Linked DNA regions of Homo sapiens: region 1 is linked to region 2. Evidence: promoter capture Hi-C in 16 types of primary human blood cells and fetal thymus (Javierre and others, 2016). All regions are on one chromosome and are shown on one strand. The core of a region is centred on a gene start or on the middle of the fragment in contact, and the rest is flanking DNA. Distances in the headings are between cores, read along the strand shown. Region 1 has its middle 4.7 kb from the start of KRT17. Region 2 holds the start of KRTAP2-3 (keratin associated protein 2-3).

Evidence for each region. Contacts are between HindIII fragments. The CHiCAGO score rates a contact against its expected background, and 5 or more counts as called.
Region 1: a contact is called between a fragment that was not itself captured here and the fragment with the promoter of KRTAP2-3 in region 2, in 2 of 17 cell types (total CD8 T cells and naive CD4 T cells). The highest score is 6.7, in total CD8 T cells.

The regions. Positions count from the first base shown.
Region 1 is chr17:41,627,336-41,631,286 of GRCh38, forward strand. It overlaps the pseudogene KRT42P. Among named protein-coding and RNA genes, the nearest start is that of KRT17, 4.7 kb to the left of the region's middle. The HindIII fragment of the contact is 5,188 bases long and covers 1-3,951 here.
Region 2 is chr17:41,058,227-41,061,909 of GRCh38, forward strand. It overlaps KRTAP2-3 (keratin associated protein 2-3), which reads right to left and starts at 1,888. Exons shown (of 1, transcript NM_001165252.2): 1 at 1,014-1,888. The coding sequence starts at 1,824. The coding sequence ends at 1,438. RefSeq lists enhancers at 1,058-1,632, 1,633-2,207. The HindIII fragment of the contact is 5,271 bases long and covers 1,387-3,683 here.

The DNA of each region.
Region 1 (3,951 bases), core at 349-2,848, 570 kb after region 2:
CCAGAAACCCAGGGCCATCAATGCCTGCTCCTTCATGTGTTCTCCCGACACTTACTGAGTCCTGACTGTGAGCCATGCTTACCCCGAGATCCAGGCATCCAGTCCCGCTGTTTTGAGCTATAACCTCTCTTCTGCGTGCACCACCTTCCTTCCCCTGCCCCACTACCCACCACCGCACGGGACTTCTCTGGCCAGACTCCCTGCTCCAGCCCCCTGACACATCTCTCTGGCCCCGCCCTGACCCCTCTGATCCATTTCTCCCTCTGCAGCCAGAGTGAATGTTCTAAAATCTCTTGATGTTCATTTCACTCTCCTGCTCCAAATCCCTCCATGGCTCCCCATTGCCTACGTGATCTAGTCCAGACGCTTTAACTTGGCATTCAAGGCTCCTCAGCCAGACTCCAGCCTGCATCGTCAGTATCACCTCCTGCAAACCCCAACAGGTTCCGACATTCACACCTCCTGAATTTCGCTGGTGCTCAGACACCAACTTCTCCCTGGGTGAAGCGGGCCCCCAGCCCACCCCAACAGGCACCCTGGTACACACTCACTGGGCGTCCTCAACCTCCAGCAAGCGGCGGTAGGTGGCGATCTCCTGCTCCAGCCACGTCTTCACGTCCAGAAGGACCTGTGCTTGTGGTCCTGGTGCTCCGTGTCGCAGCAGAGCTCGCACAGCTGCTGCTCCATGCTTCTGTTAAGCCCCTGCAGCTGGGCCGGCAGGGTCCTGTAACACACCTCCATCTCCACCAGGCTGCCCTCCAGCGATGCTTTCTGTGGGCCAAGAGATAGGTGGTGTGATGAGCTGGACCTGGGACCCTTCCCCATGGCAGAGCACTAGAGAGGAGCCCCTCCTGTATGGGGCTGTGGGTGCTGCCAGCACAATGAGGTGGTAGTGCACCCAGCCACTGAGTGTGAAGGGACAGGCTGGGTGGGGACTCTGGTTCCCCAAGCAGGGGTCTACAAGGCTGGGCTCACCCTGGGGTGACAGGTACAGGGTGGGGAGGGGACAGAGACCCTACCTTGCTGAGCTGGGACGGCTCAGGTTCTGCACAGAGACGTAGAGCTCCATATCTCTATCCAGCCACTCTGCAGGGCCTCTGTGTTGGTGGCCACCTCGCAGTTCAGCCCCTCTTTCTGGAAGGCAGAGTGGGCCACAGGGGTTTATGGAGACTTTCAGAAGCGGGGCACAGGAAAGGGCTGCTCCTGAACCCTCACCTCCCAGAACCATCCCCTAGCCCCTCCCTGGCCTCTATGGGGCCCCAAAGGCACCTGCACACAGAGAGCCTCTGCACCCACATTGGAACTTGGAGGAATTCAGCCTGCTCTGCGGTCATTTGCATTTCTTTTTCCTACTGAACTGCAGCACCTCAAAGACAGGCACTGGGTGTTATTCTTTTGCGCCTGTTGCTGTCCCTAGGATACCGGAGATACTCAGCCTGTGCTTGCCAAGGGTATACATATGTATTCAAATACGCACATCCTGTAAACAGCTGTGGTGGAAACCCAAGACCAGACTTGTAGAGACCTGGATCTATTTTGCAGGCCACAGTGAAGGGCTGTGTGAGCTTGAGTCCTCTCTGAGCCTCACGTTTTACATCTAAAACATGAGGGGCTGGTCCAACTGGTTTCCAAAAGTCCTTCCAACTGGGACAGCCTGTGGATCTGCCAGTGCTCCAGCTGCACCAGCATGCAGCACATGTGCCCACACGTGTACACACCTGCTTACGCACGGCCACCCACCATGCTGAAGAACCAGCCCTCGGCATCCTTGCAGCTCTTCTCCACCAATGTCTTGTCCTGGTCACGCATCTCATTCAGGATGCAGCTCAGGTTCACTCCAGGCACAGTGTCCATCTTCACACTGACATCCTCATCCACCTGACCTCAAAGGACGTTCATTTCCTGGGCAGAGAGGACAGCAGAAGCTCACCCAAGGCCATCCTGGAGAAAGACCCTGGGGCCTGCCTTCTTTCCCTCGGAGAGACAGGTACAGATGACAGACAGACAGACACAGATAGGCCAACAGCTCCTCACCCTGAAGGTGGAGGTGGATGTTGTCATTTCTCAAACATACAGGGCTGTGAATATTAGCAACCTCCCCCAACACACACCGTGACGCGGGACTGGAATTCACCCATCCCCAACAAGTGCTAAGCCCCGAGAGATGACAACCCCCCAGCACGGTGGAGGATGACCACGGGCGACCTCACTCACTGCCCTGACCTTGCCCCCACCACTGCCTTGCCCCCACCACCAAGCCCACAGCACAGGCATGCAGAAAGCAACCCTACGCTGTGTCACTGCGCCAGGCCCCGTTAGCAAATGTTAATCTGCTGGAGGAAAGCAATTGTATAACCAGCCTCAAAGCCAGGGGGAAACACCTTCCGGGTGTCCTGCTTCTCGGGGAGTAGGCTCCCCCAGCTCAGAGCAGCACAGAGCTCGGCTGAGAAGGAAGACACAGGACAGGGCATGTAAGGCCTCCTGACTGCCCCACAGGACCTTGGATCTCTATCCTTGGGTTGAGCTTTGGAGTCCCTGCGACCTAGAGCCTTCTGGAAAGGAGAGGCAGGAGAGGGGGCAGAGAGGTGGGGTGGATACGAGTCCAACAGACCTGAAGGAGGGTCCCTGTGCAGCCATAGATAAATCCCTTAACCTCTCTGAGCCTCCGTTTCTTCAAAGGTCAAAAGGAAGTAAGAGTATCTTTCTCCCAGCTGTTGTATCAGCTGAGATAATGGCTGTGAGTCACTTGTAGTGCTGGGCAGAAGTTCCTTGTTTTAATGACTATCACTATTATAATTAATTATAACAAGCATTGTGTTAATTATAACTAGCATTGTGTGTTCTTAAACTGAGTTACTCATTAGTTAGTTAACTGCAGTGAGCTGAGCCTCAAGGGACAAATGAAGTCTATTTGGGACGAGGGGCTCCTCCAGGCCTCACGCAGTGTCCTCTGAGGGTCAGGGCTAGTCATCCATAAAAGACGGGAACTGGACTGAAAGCACAGCCCAGCCCAGGGAGGTTCTGGGCCCCAGCCTCGCTTGCTTCCAGGTGAATTTCTGCTGCGTTCCCTGAGCTGACCTCACCTGCTTGTGGTTCTTCTTCAGGTAGACCAGGTCCTCCTTGAGGTTCTCAATCTGCATCTCCAGGTTGGCCCCGGCCAGGGTCAGCTTGTCCAGCCCCTGGGGCAGCTCCAGAGACCCAGCCTCACTTGGTGCAGAGGTCATCGGCAGCCAGGTGGGCATCATCCACCTGTAGCCAGCACGAAGCTGGAATTACCGACCACAGCCACCAGGATCTGGGAGAGACGGGGTCTCCATGAGAAAATGCCCTTGGCAGCCTCCAGGAGACCCTCCAACACCCTTCTTGCAGGCTTTTCGGAAGTGAGCCAGGGTGAGGGTGATGAGAGTCCCCATGGTCTTCTCTGAGCACCCCCCTGGGAACTTCTGGGGAGCCAGGGTGAGGGTGATGAGAGTCCCCGTGGTCTTCTCTGAGCACCCTCCTGGGAATTTCTGGGGAGCCAGGGTGAGGGTGATGAGAGTCCCCGTGGTCTTCTCTGAGCACCCTCCTGGGAATTTCTGGGGAGCCAGGGTGAGGGTGATGAGAGTCCCCGTGGTCTTCTCTGAGCACCCTCCTGGGAATTTCTGGGGAGCCAGGGTGAGGGTGATGAGAGTCCCCGTGGTCTTCTCTGAGCACCCTCCTGGGAATTTCTGGGACCCAGCCAAGGCCCTCAGGGGGTTAAAGGATGATGGGGGTAGGATGCCCAGGCATGGGTAAACATGGATGCCAGGAGAGAGACCCTTATGCAGCTGTCTCCCACCATGGGGGTCATGGCCTAAGCTGCCTAGGCCTCACTCCCTCTTCCCCAACTAAATTCACCTCTAGGCTCAGCTGCCACCTCCTCCAGAAAGCCCTCTTGGATTCCCTTTCTGCGTCTCTTTTCCAGATCATACC
Region 2 (3,683 bases), core at 638-3,137:
GACCTACCCATCTCAGCCTCCCAAAGTGCTGGGATTTCAGGCTTGAGCCACTGCACCTGGCCATCTGTTACTATGCTTATTACCTGGGTGATGAAATAATCTGTATACCAAAACCCTGTGACACACAATTTACCTATATAACAAACGTGCACATGTACCCCTGAACTTGAAATAAATTTAAATTAAAAAGACTAAAGACCCCTGCCCTCACAAAGCTTCCCTTGCCTCACTTCTCTCAATGGGCAGGTAGATATGCCCAGGAATACATGCTGAACAATCAAAGAAATCTCTTTTCTATCACATGCTAGGAACTAAAAAGATATTTATCAGGAAAATGATAGTGGTTAGCCTTCCTTACCAACATACAAGTATTTAACAAAATCAAAAATATATGCAGTATGGATTAATGTTATCAGCATTTCAACCGCATTGCAGTTGTTTAAATGGTTAAGATGTATGCGGAGCTCAAAACTAGGATGATTACAACCAAGGCTTCATTTCTCCCTGTCTTCTCAGCAGCAGCCACTCCACTGGAAGTAGAACTGGCCATGGTGGTGCTGACGGGAACCATGGAGAAGATGGGATAGTGGTTCCTCCAGCATAGGATGTTCAGTGGCTAGGGATTCCCAGGTCTTGTTTGACATCAATTACCGTACAGTTTCCTACATTGGTGAACAAATAGGGCTATAACTTAGCTTAGACTTCCTCCCCCTTATCATGTGTGTGAATTATTCATAAGTCAAGTTTATGTTTACAGAGACCTACTGTAGTCTCACCATTTCGTCAGCATCACCATAAAACCTGCGACTCGAAATATGAAGGTGAATCATGAGATGATCAGATTTATTTGAAATGCTATTAAAATTATAGACCTTCCACCTGAGTTGTTCCTATTCTAAAGCTCAAAAATGGCCCTTAGAAAATCTCTCCTTTCGTTCTTCTGGTTCTGCATGCTGTAATGTAAGCTAAATATGAGCTTTTGAAGAGCAATAAACAATAAATAAAAAGAAATGTTTGCTTCCCCAGAAATATAATTTTATTTTTTTTTACAGTGCAAAAATACAGCATACAAATAGTATTATCCTGGAAGAAAAAAATCTCATCTGAGAACCTTGAAACAGTAGAAAAAAGGGTGATGAGTCAGTGGGACAGAGTTCTATTCAAGAGGAGCTTTGATTTTTATTTACTCGTTTTTTTTTTCAAGCCAGGAATTCGAATGATGAAAGCTGGAATTTTTCTCAAGATTGTCAGAGAGGGCCAGGATTAGCTGCATAATTATGTGGGGAAATAGATAGGATGTTATTGTTGAATTCGTGCTTGAGGATCAGCTAGGCTGCAAAGGTGGAGTCTCTCATCTGATCCAGAAGGGGTAGAAGAGTCTGCACAAGCTTCTGTGCACCTGGGAATGTTTCGTGCGTTGAGAGGAGAGGTGGGGTCTCAGCAGGAGGAGGTCCTGCAGGTGGTGCTGCAAGGGGTCGGCTGGCCGCAGGGAGGCCGGCAGCAGGGGGACTGCACAGACACAGGCTGGCAGCAGGTGGTGGCCCAGCAGCAGGGCCTGCACACCACAGCCGTGCACGACGAGGGGCAGCAGGTGATGGGGCGGCAGCAGCCTTCCTGCAGGGAGCAGGGGTCGCAGCACACCGGGCGGCGGCAGGGCTCGCAGATGGGGCGCGTGCAGCGGGGCACGCAGGTCACGGGGCGGCACACGGTGGTCTGGCAGGTCACGGGGCGGCAGCAGCAGGGGTCGCGGCAGCAGCAGGGCTGGCAGCAGCCTCCCCCGTAGCTCAGGGAGGACAAGGTGGAGCCGCAGCAGGAGCCGGTCATGGTGGTGTCTGAGGCTGGTGTGGGTTGGGCTGTTGAGAGGAGCTGGATGTTCTCAGGTGTGAATGTCCTCGTTCCACTCTGGGCCCTTTATATATCCTAGCTGGATGCTGATGACCCCCAGGACATGAGGTCATTTCCTGGAGTTGTAGCTGCCCGTTGAAATGAGAACTCTGGATTTAACTGCTGAGGCAGCGATCCCTAAATCACTAAAGAATGCTTTGTTTTCTACCTGTCTACTTTTTCCCTAGAACGGAATACCTGGTCATGTATATCATCAGAACAATTGCTCATCTATCAGCTAGTCCTTCCAGGCCATGCCATGTGAGAAGGTGCAAGTTTGAAGAATCCAGCCACCATCACACTTTCCTCTTGTTCGCTGCCATCCGTGACTTAAGCATGGGACTGGAATGTTCATGAGTCACAGGCTGGGTTTCTGATTGGCATTGAGATCAAGCAAGAATTTCTTAAAAACCAAAATGGCTCATAAGAGCAGATGTGTATTGATTCTGCTATGGAAAGAATGGCCCAGTGTTTAATGACACAGTGCCTAACCTTGTTTATAAGAAAATCATCACCAAAGCTGCTAGACTGATTTTATTTTAGTAATCTGAGTTGGTTTATAACTCATTAACACTTATGAGACACTTATTATGTAGATGGTACTGTACTATTTGGGGGTGGAGGGGGAAAGGAAAGAAAAATAGCTTTCAAATAGTTTCCTATCACATAGTAATCATAACTTTTAGTAAGGCAAGACAAAGATAAATCAAGCAATTAAAGGGAAAGAACTTTTCTGGGAACAATAAGGTCAAACTAAATGGGGATTTCATTCATTCTGTGCCTTTCTGAATGCCCTTCCCTGATTATTGACCTAGAAATAAAATTGAAATTGGGCTATTTCTTGCTTTCTTGCTTTGACATATGCACTTTGTATTACATACTTAAAAATCTATGGACAATATCTACAAAGGAATCAATTATCTTTCTGTCACAGCTTCTTTAGTTTGTTGGCTGAGGGTTTTGTTTGTTTATGAGGTGGGAAGGTGGCATTATGAAAAAGACAAGGGGAATTAGTTTAGCTGGTGACCAATAAAATAGCTTTGTCTTTTCCAGCCATAGCAAAGATGAATAGGAATACAGAAAATAAATTTAGAGTTGGAAGGTAGATTAAAGATAACATTGTCCAAGGAATGCTGATGGTCTTCAGTGCAAATTTACCTCTGAGGTGTGTTTTGTTTTGTTTTCTCTTTTTAAAAATACACCCTTTGGTCTATCATATCCCTGATCTTTGAAGTCCTTTGAGTCTATGATCCATCATAGTCCATCACAGTTTTTGGAAGACCAGATTTACAAAATGAATTCCTCCAAAGTCGTACGGATCAAAGAGTGGCAAATATTTAGCAATACCACAGGTCTTCTGTGGAGTAGAAACACTGGTGATGTCTCCCAGTCTTTTTCCAACTCGGAGTCACTCAAAATAGATAACATGTAGCAGTAGTTATTAAAAAGTTTTATTCCCTTTAGTGAAATAAAATAAGTACTCACTTGATACATGGTTTAGCATTCTGTTCTTTGTTTTGGAATGTATACAGAGATGCCAAACTAAAAAGAGAAATATGTCTGTAAATCCACTGCTTTTGTTAACAAAAGAACACAGTACTAAGAAATACTGTTTTCTAAAATTATAGGCTGTTAGAAACCTTGCTCTTCCAAGCCACATCAGTAAGAAGGAAACATTTCACTCTTGCCTAGACAGGATCTAAGTCATCTGGACAGAGAAGCAACCTCAGTACCCAACCCAGGTACAGAATTTCAGACAAGTGACTTGCAGACACAACATTCCCCATTTGTCTCAACTA